Regions from separate parts of the Homo sapiens genome. Here region 1 is linked to region 2. Evidence: promoter capture Hi-C in human tissues and cell types (Jung and others, 2019). All regions are on one chromosome and are shown on one strand. Each heading gives the region's core, a stretch centred on a gene start or on the middle of the fragment in contact. The rest is flanking DNA. Distances are from core to core; before and after follow the strand shown. Region 1 holds the start of DNAJC5 (DnaJ heat shock protein family (Hsp40) member C5). Region 2 holds the start of SLC17A9 (solute carrier family 17 member 9).

Region 1 (3,614 bases), core at 330-2,829, 940 kb after region 2:
TGAGTAGCTGGGACTACAGGGGCATGCATGCCACTGTGGCCGGGCCAATTAAAAAAATTTTTTTTTATAGAGATGGTGGTCTCACTATGTTGTCCAGGCAGGTCTCAAACTCCTGGGCTCCAGTGATCTTCCTGCCTTGGTCTACCAAAGTGCTGAGATTCCAGGCGTGAGCCATGGGTCCCGTTGTATACATTTCAGTAACTATATTATTCCATTTGAGTGCTCACTTGTGCAGTTGGGCAGGTTTCCATTCTCGCTATTAAAAATAGTGCCTTCATGAATATTTCAGTGCATATACCTTTTTCTGTATTTAGGAATATTTTCTTTGGAAGAATGTCCCTAAAGTGGAACTGCTAGGTCTCAGAGGGACTCACTTAAGGCTGGTTCATTCATTCTTGCAGCTCCCAGCACAAGTGGAATATAGCTTCAATCTGAGATCGGTACCAGGCCCATTTCATTCTCTCATCCCTCCAATTCTGGCCTGAAATATTTCATTCTCTTGGAATCTATAGTTGTAGATATGAACCTGGCCTTTCTGCTTCTTGGGTTCCATAGGCCTTTTCTTGCTGCCTGCTTGATGTTGCGCAGCTTAATGACTGCTAGGAGGCTTCCCAAGCTCTGACACTTCCAGGCTGTGAGACTGGAACAAGCTTGGCAATTCAAGACCGGCATTATGGCAGTGAGTTATGAGGGCAGAGGAAGGAGGCCAGAGCGTGTTGAGAGAGAATTTGGGTTTCACGCAGTGTGTCACGGGAAGCCTTGGATGCTACTGGGTTTGTTTTAAAAAGATGACCGCACTGAACTCAGGTAAACGGGCAAGGGTGGAAGCGAGGAGGCAGGAGCACCGGCCGCAGAGGTCTGGGAGCTTCTAGGATGGGAAGTGGCCCAGGCAGCCTACGCGGGGCAGGCCGTCAGTGAGTGGCGGAGCGCCTGCAGTTACAGGGACAGGGAAGGGTGGCCGACGGGATGGGCAAGGGCAGAGGGAGGTGGAGTGGACGTTCGTGGTCCTGCCTCTCCACGCTGCTGTTTGGAGATGATTCCGGGAGGGTGGGAGGGCGCTGGCGACGGCATTTCAGTGGTTGGACAGGAAGGAAGGAAGGACGTCCCATCTCGGCGCTCCAGGGTTGAGCAAATGTCAGTCCCAGGACGGTGGCTCCGGGTGGGGGCGGGGGCGACGGTCCGCAGCCGTCTCCCACCAGCTCCCTGTTCAGTTCTTTGATGAGAACGATTACGTTTTCTCAGTCTTACTTAAAGCGCTGAGTAAACTCACCTGCAAGACCAGCAAGCCCTGCGCTTCTCTTTCTGCGCGGTTCCCCGCAGCACATGGCGTGTCCACCCGGGACCCACCTGCGGCCACCTGAAGACTGGGAGGACTGGCTCCGCCCCCGCGCTTCGTCCCCGCCCACTCATGGGCGGAGCCTCCACAGGGCGCCTCGGCCCCGGGCTGTCACTCGGGACTCCGCCCCTTCATGGACGGAGCCTCCGCTCGGCTCTCTGAGCGCATGCGCAGCCGGTCCCACCCGCGGCTCCGACACGCCGGAGCCCACGTCCTTCCGGGAGCGCGCGCGCCGGTGCGGGTGCGTGCGTGAGCGTGCTCGTCTCCGCTGCCGCTGCCGCTGCCGCTGCCGGTGCCGCACCCGCGCCCTCTGCCGCCGCCGCCGCCGCCGCCCGGGGTCTCCAGGCTGAGGAGTGCGTCGGCCGCTGCCCAGCAGCGCCGCGAATCGGGGAGCGGAGCCGCGGAGCCGGCGGGAGGGCGGGCGGGCGGGCGGACGGGCAGGTGAGCTCGCTGCGGGTCGGGCGGGCGGATCGGCCCACGTCAGGCCCGGGCAGGCGGGCGGGCGGGCGCGGGTGGGGGGCGGGGGCGGCACTCCAGAGCCGGAAATGGCGGCGACCCCCGGGCCGGGGCTGCGCGGGCGCTCGGGGCCGGAGCTGCTGCGACGCCGCGGCCTGGGCCGGGGCGGGGGCGCGGGAAGGTCGGCGCCGGGGCCTGCGGGAGCCGGGCCGGGCCGGGCCGGGGGTCTGAGCACCGTGGTGGGGGCTGGGGCGGCGCTCTCCGCGGGTCTCTTCGGGCCCGGACGCCCCCTCCGCTCCCCCAGGTCCCCGCGGCCGCCCCCAACCCCCCGGGGTCTCCTCTCCTGCGGGGGGACTGGAGAAGCTGGGCCATCGCTGGTCTTAGGGAGGCAGATAATTTAGTCCCTGGGTCGTTGTGTTTATAGCTCGGGGAATTGAAAATTGTTCTGTAACGCATCGTAAATTAATCTTTCCGACGTTGTAAATTCCAAAAAGCATTTGGTTTGTTAGAAAAAACCTGTTTTCTCCGCTTTATAAAAACATTTGAAGCCATGCTTTATATTGAACTCTTAAGGAGAGTATTAGGAACTCGTCCGTTCAGGTTCTAACTTGTTGGTGTTAAGTGTCTGGATTAAAGACTCTCTTTTTCGTGTGCCGAAGCCATGATTTCTCAAATTCATTCAGTTGTGTCATACAGGAAAAGGAAGCAAAAATTTCAGCTTTATTTTTGTTTTCCGGCTTAGGCTTGGTTGGGAAGATTTGATGGTGGTTAGACACGTCTGCCCTTATTTGCCTGTTTAGAAAAACCTATTCTAATGACAAAAACAGTTACATTGCTCCCACTATTGTCATGGTTACCTGAAGGCAAAAGTTTACTCAAAGCTTCTGAGATTTTATGTTCGTTTATTTGCTTCTCTTTTTAAAAAAATGTCAGCTGAGTTTCAGGAATGAGTAGTCTGTCAAACAAGAGATGAAATTAGAAGCCTGGATCTAAGGGCTTTGGGGAAGTTTCGGTTGAGTTCCCCTTTCACTTGTGTCGGTGCTGTAGGACTCGGGGTGGCTCCAGCTGGCGTCTGGCCCAGCAGAGAGCTGTAGGGGCCCGCTCTGGTTGCTGGCTGTGTGGACTCTGAGGGACACCCCTGGCGAGGGTGTTAATGAGCCTGCAGCGTCTGAGTCCACCCACCCTCAGACTGGCCCCTGACTCACTCTGCACCTGCCATATCAGCCTCCTTGCTAGTTCTGAACAGAGCCACATGCTCTGTCCTTGGATCTTCCTGGAATGCCTGGTTCCTTAACCCCCTAGCCTGGCGACTGCCTGCCTGCCTTGCCACCCAGTTCCCTTCCTCGCTTAATTTTCCCACAGCGCTGAATCCTCCTAGTGTCCTGCTTAATGCATTTATCATACTTAATATTTTACTGTGAGTTAGTAAGGTCCGTGGAGAGAATGTTTTGTGAAAAAAACAGTTGCTGGCACATGATCGGGGCCCAGTAAATATTTGTTCAGTGAATGAACGTGAGGAGCTTAGCAGCAGCTGTGCGTGGTGCTGGCCTTGTCACCCGGAAGTCCTTGTCGGTGAGGACTGAGCATGTAGAGGTAAGGGTTCCTGGAGTGTTGGCCCTCAGGACAGAGAGCCACCATCTCTCACCTGCCCAATGAGGAAAGACAGCCAGGTAAGGGGTGGCTTGGAAGGGTGCATGGGACCCTTGTAAATCTTTTCGCAACTTTGAATCTATAATTATTTTGAAGTTAAAACGTTTCTAAAAAGTCAGATCTGTTGGGGGCACAGTGGCTCATGCCTGTAATCTCAGCACTTTAGGAGGCT
Region 2 (3,835 bases), core at 1,020-3,519:
GTTTTAGAAATGTTGAACACTAGTGCTTGTAAGATTCGAACAATGAGTTTACCAGCTCTGAGAAAAATGAACTGCTCCAGAACCTTCAAGAATGTTTCTCTGTATCACGCCCACATCACACCGAATCCATTTGTCGTCATTGCAGAGTTCATCTTTCTGGTTTTGAGCACCATCTCACACAGTTCTTTGTCTTTTTCCAGTCTGCTGTTGACTGGGTTAGCTCAGCCCGAAAGGTGCCCCCACCTTTGAGGCAGTTCCCGCACGTGATGTCCAGTACCGCGGTCTTCCCTCTTGCTGCTGCCTGTCAGTCATGGCAGAGGAAAGTGTCATCTGTCAGTCTCCTTTTCATGGACTCCTCATCTTGAGAATTGTAGTTGGGCTGGAAGGTTGCAGGGCTAAGTGGGGTGCAGGGAGGAGCCCCAGGCCCAGGGCTGGCTTGTCTTGGTTTACAAGAAGCTGTGCGGGGTCTCCTGGGGCGTCTGTGGGGGGTGTGGATGCAGAGGCTGAGCAACGGGCGCCATACGTAGTGAGGTGTGGATTTGCTTTAGGAAAATCTCTAGCATCGTCTCCCTATAGCAGCACTTGAAATAAACAAGAAGTTAGGTGGGCCAGGCCCAACAAGAGGGAGGCACGCAGCCTTCCAGAAGCAGAGGCCAGTGGGTGCTGGCTGTGACTGCCCTGTCCGCAAGGTCACCCTGTGTCCTTGAAAACCCAGGTGTTGACTGTCTATTGTCCCTACATAATTTTTCACCTTAGGCCTCAAAGATGCTTGGGTGCGGGGCAGCTCTCAGAATCCACCAGAAGCGTGGAGAGCCTCCATCTGGCCACTACCAGCACCCAGCTTTATAATGTCCCTGTGAGATGGCCCCTTCACCCACCCAGCCATCCCTGCATGGCCCGTTTCTTCAGCTCATCCAGCCTTCACTCAGGTGTCCAGGGGTGCCTCCTCAGCCCAACCTATTTGAAGTAACACCCCTTCCCTACCCCTTTCACTACTTTGATTTTTGTCTACCTGCCCCAGAACATCAGCTCCAGGAGGAAGGGGACTTTGGGTAACCAGATGGCAAATGTCTGCTGCAGCATGATCACAGATCTCGGTAGGAAATCACCATCACAGAGTGAATGGAAGCGAATCACCTCAAAGAGGGTGCTGTTGACAGCGATACGTTTAGCAACAGTTTCCAAACTTCCTGGCTATGGGCTAGGGCTGTTTGGGGCAATAAACCTCTCTCTGCCACCATCTTTTCACCTACCCTACGTCAGGATGGATGAAAGTATGACCTTGCTTTTCAGGGTGCCCGTGTCTTTCTGTTCAGAGGGCCCTGGGAGCAGGCCCTGCAGTGCAGTGGGTTGGGCTGTTGGAGACCTGAGGGCTAGGGGGAGGGAGGGGGTAAATGTGGGTCTGTTCTAAGTGCAAGGCCCTGCCTTAGACGTGTCTCCCTCGGCCCCTGGGTGGTGGCTGCTGCGTGGAGGATGGACTGAGGTGGGCCCTAGTGGAGGTGGGGGCAACGCCTGAGGAGCAGGCCCTGCCGCCTCCTGGGGAAAGGCTGCATGGTTGAGGCCTTCCCCTGCTGGCTTCATCCTTGGCATGGCAGCAGGAGCACACAGAGTGGGGGCCCCACCCCGTCACCCCTGCCCCCGAGCCCAGAACCTGGCCTGTGATGGGTCCTCAGGACACCTTTTGTCCAGGAACCCAGGGGCCAATGACAACCTTCACAGGCATCTGCTGAGAAGACATGGGCCAGCGCTGGATTTGTCCAGCTCTCCCAGGCTTGGTCCAAGGGCTCAGGAGTGGACCCATCCCTGCCCCGAAAGATCCATTTTAAAAATCAGTGACCCTGTACTTTTACTCTCTTTGCACTTGGTTAAGACTTTATCCCTGATTTTATTTGATCGGTAAGGCAGGGACTGCCATCATTCCCCATTTTATAGACAGAGGACAGACGGCCCCATGGCTCCGTGTCGTGTCCAAGGGATGGGCTGGCACCTCTTGGACCAGGCTTACCACCAGGGCCCTTCTCTGAAGCCCCAGTCTGACCGGCCTGCTGCTGGGAATCCCCCTCTGCCCCCACACTAACCTCTGCTGGGGCTGAGCCAGGGCGCGTCGGACAGTCAGGGCGACCCAGCCAGGGCGACCGTTGGCCCCGCTCCTATGGGGCAGCAGGGACCGACGTCAGCAGGGTGGGGCGGGCACCCGAGTGGTATGCCCCGCCCTGCCCCGCCTGCCCGCCCTGGTGGCCGTCTGGGGGCGACAAGTCCTGAGAGAACCAGACGGAAGCGCGCTGGGACTGACACGTGGACTTGGGCGGTGCTGCCCGGGTGGGTCAGCCTGGGCTGGGAGGCAGCCCCGGGACACAGCTGTGCCCACGCCGTCTGAGCACCCCAAGCCCGATGCAGCCACCCCCAGACGAGGCCCGCAGGGACATGGCCGGGGACACCCAGTGGTCCAGGTGTGGCGGGGGTGAGGGGAGGGGGGGTGGGAGCGGTGGAGATGGGGCCGTGGGGAGGGAGCTGAGATACTGCCACGTGGGACGATGCTAGGTGGGGAGGGCTGAGCTGGGCGGGCTCCTCTGGCTGTGGGGCCCCCTGTGTTCCTTGTGGGAGGTGGAAGGAAGTGAGTGCCCTGTCCTTCCTCCCTGCCATGAGATTCCAGGACCGGACCTGGCAAGTGCCCTATCCCAGCCAGTGTTCCTGGGGCTCTTCCAGGCAGGGCTATGTTCCCCAGGCCAGGGGCATTGTCCTGGACAGTCAGGAGGCATACCCCTCGCCAGGTGGAACCACCCTGTGTATGCATGACCCTGACAAGCAGGCGCCAGGACAGTCAGGAGGCCAGGTAGGGGGCACGGGCTGGAGCCTGCAGCTGGACGGGGTTGGGGGGGGTCCTGCCACCACGTGCCAGCTGTGTGCTGAGGACGAGCTCCCCGCTGGCTTCAGCTCTCGGAGCATTTGGTGGTGGGGAGAAGCAGGGCCTGGGCAGGTCGCCTGGCCACCAGCACTGCTGCCTGTAGGAGGCTCCCTGGGCAGGTGACGCCTCAGAAACCGGGCGAGATGGTGACCGCGGGCCATTGGTCAGCTGGGGAGGGCCTCTGCCAGGGAGCTCCTGAGAGCAGCCCCCACACTGCTGAACCCCTTGGCTCTGGGTCTTGGGCTGAGGCCTTAAGTGGCTGGACCCTGGGCCTAGACTCAGGCCCTGTGGGTTCCAGAGCAGTCTCCTGCCTGCACTGAGTCCCCAGGGTACCTACCCTGACCATGGCAAGGTAATGGCACCTTCTGGCCCCACCAGTTCCCAGCTGTATGAGGGCTGAGGACCCTAGAAGTGCTGGGAAGAGTTGTAGGAAGGCCCAAAGGGGCAGTGCCACCATCGGATGTTGGCACCCAGATGAAGGGAGCGCTGGCTGCATGGGAAAAGCTGGCAGCCCAGATCACAGCCCTGTCAGGCGCCAATTAGAGGGGAGGGCTGCCCTCAGCGGGCCCTGCCCCTTGCTCTCTTCCTCTTCCCCCACCCACGTTCATCCAGGCCTGCCGGGCAGGGCCAGCTCCCCAGGGATTCAGGGCCTCCTCACTGGCGGCTGGTTTGAGTGGCTCCGCCTTCACTACGTCCCTCCCAGGCTCGATGTTTAAAAAGGAGCCCTTGCCGCAGCCTTCACTACGTCCCTCCCAGGCTCGATGTTTAAAAAGGAGCCCTTGCCGCAGCCTTCACTACGTCCCTCCCAGGCTCGATGTTTAAAAAGGAGCCCTTGCCACAGCTCTTCAACTTCCTTTGCAGGCCCTTATTGGGTAGCGCCAAGGATTCTGGAGGGGCCTGTGGGTCAAGGCTGCCACACGCACGCCTTTT

The links. The method cuts DNA at HindIII sites, captures the fragments that hold promoters and counts their contacts. A contact is called where the count stands out against the background at its distance.
Region 1: a contact is called between the fragment with the promoter of DNAJC5 here and the fragment with the promoter of SLC17A9 in region 2, in 2 of the 25 tissues and cell types used here (spleen and stomach).

The regions. Positions count from the first base shown.
Region 1 is chr20:63,893,547-63,897,160 of GRCh38, forward strand. DNAJC5 (DnaJ heat shock protein family (Hsp40) member C5) reads left to right here and starts at 1,580. Exons shown (of 5, transcript NM_025219.3): 1 at 1,580-1,777. RefSeq lists enhancers at 793-962, 895-1,422, a cis regulatory region at 878 and a silencer at 1,422-1,661. The HindIII fragment of the contact is 9,208 bases long and covers 1-3,614 here.
Region 2 is chr20:62,950,440-62,954,274 of GRCh38, forward strand. SLC17A9 (solute carrier family 17 member 9) reads left to right here and starts at 2,270. Exons shown (of 13, transcript NM_022082.4): 1 at 2,270-2,450. The coding sequence starts at 2,392. RefSeq lists an enhancer at 1,680-2,509 and silencers at 2,061-2,380, 2,391-2,490. The HindIII fragment of the contact is 20,012 bases long and covers 1-3,835 here.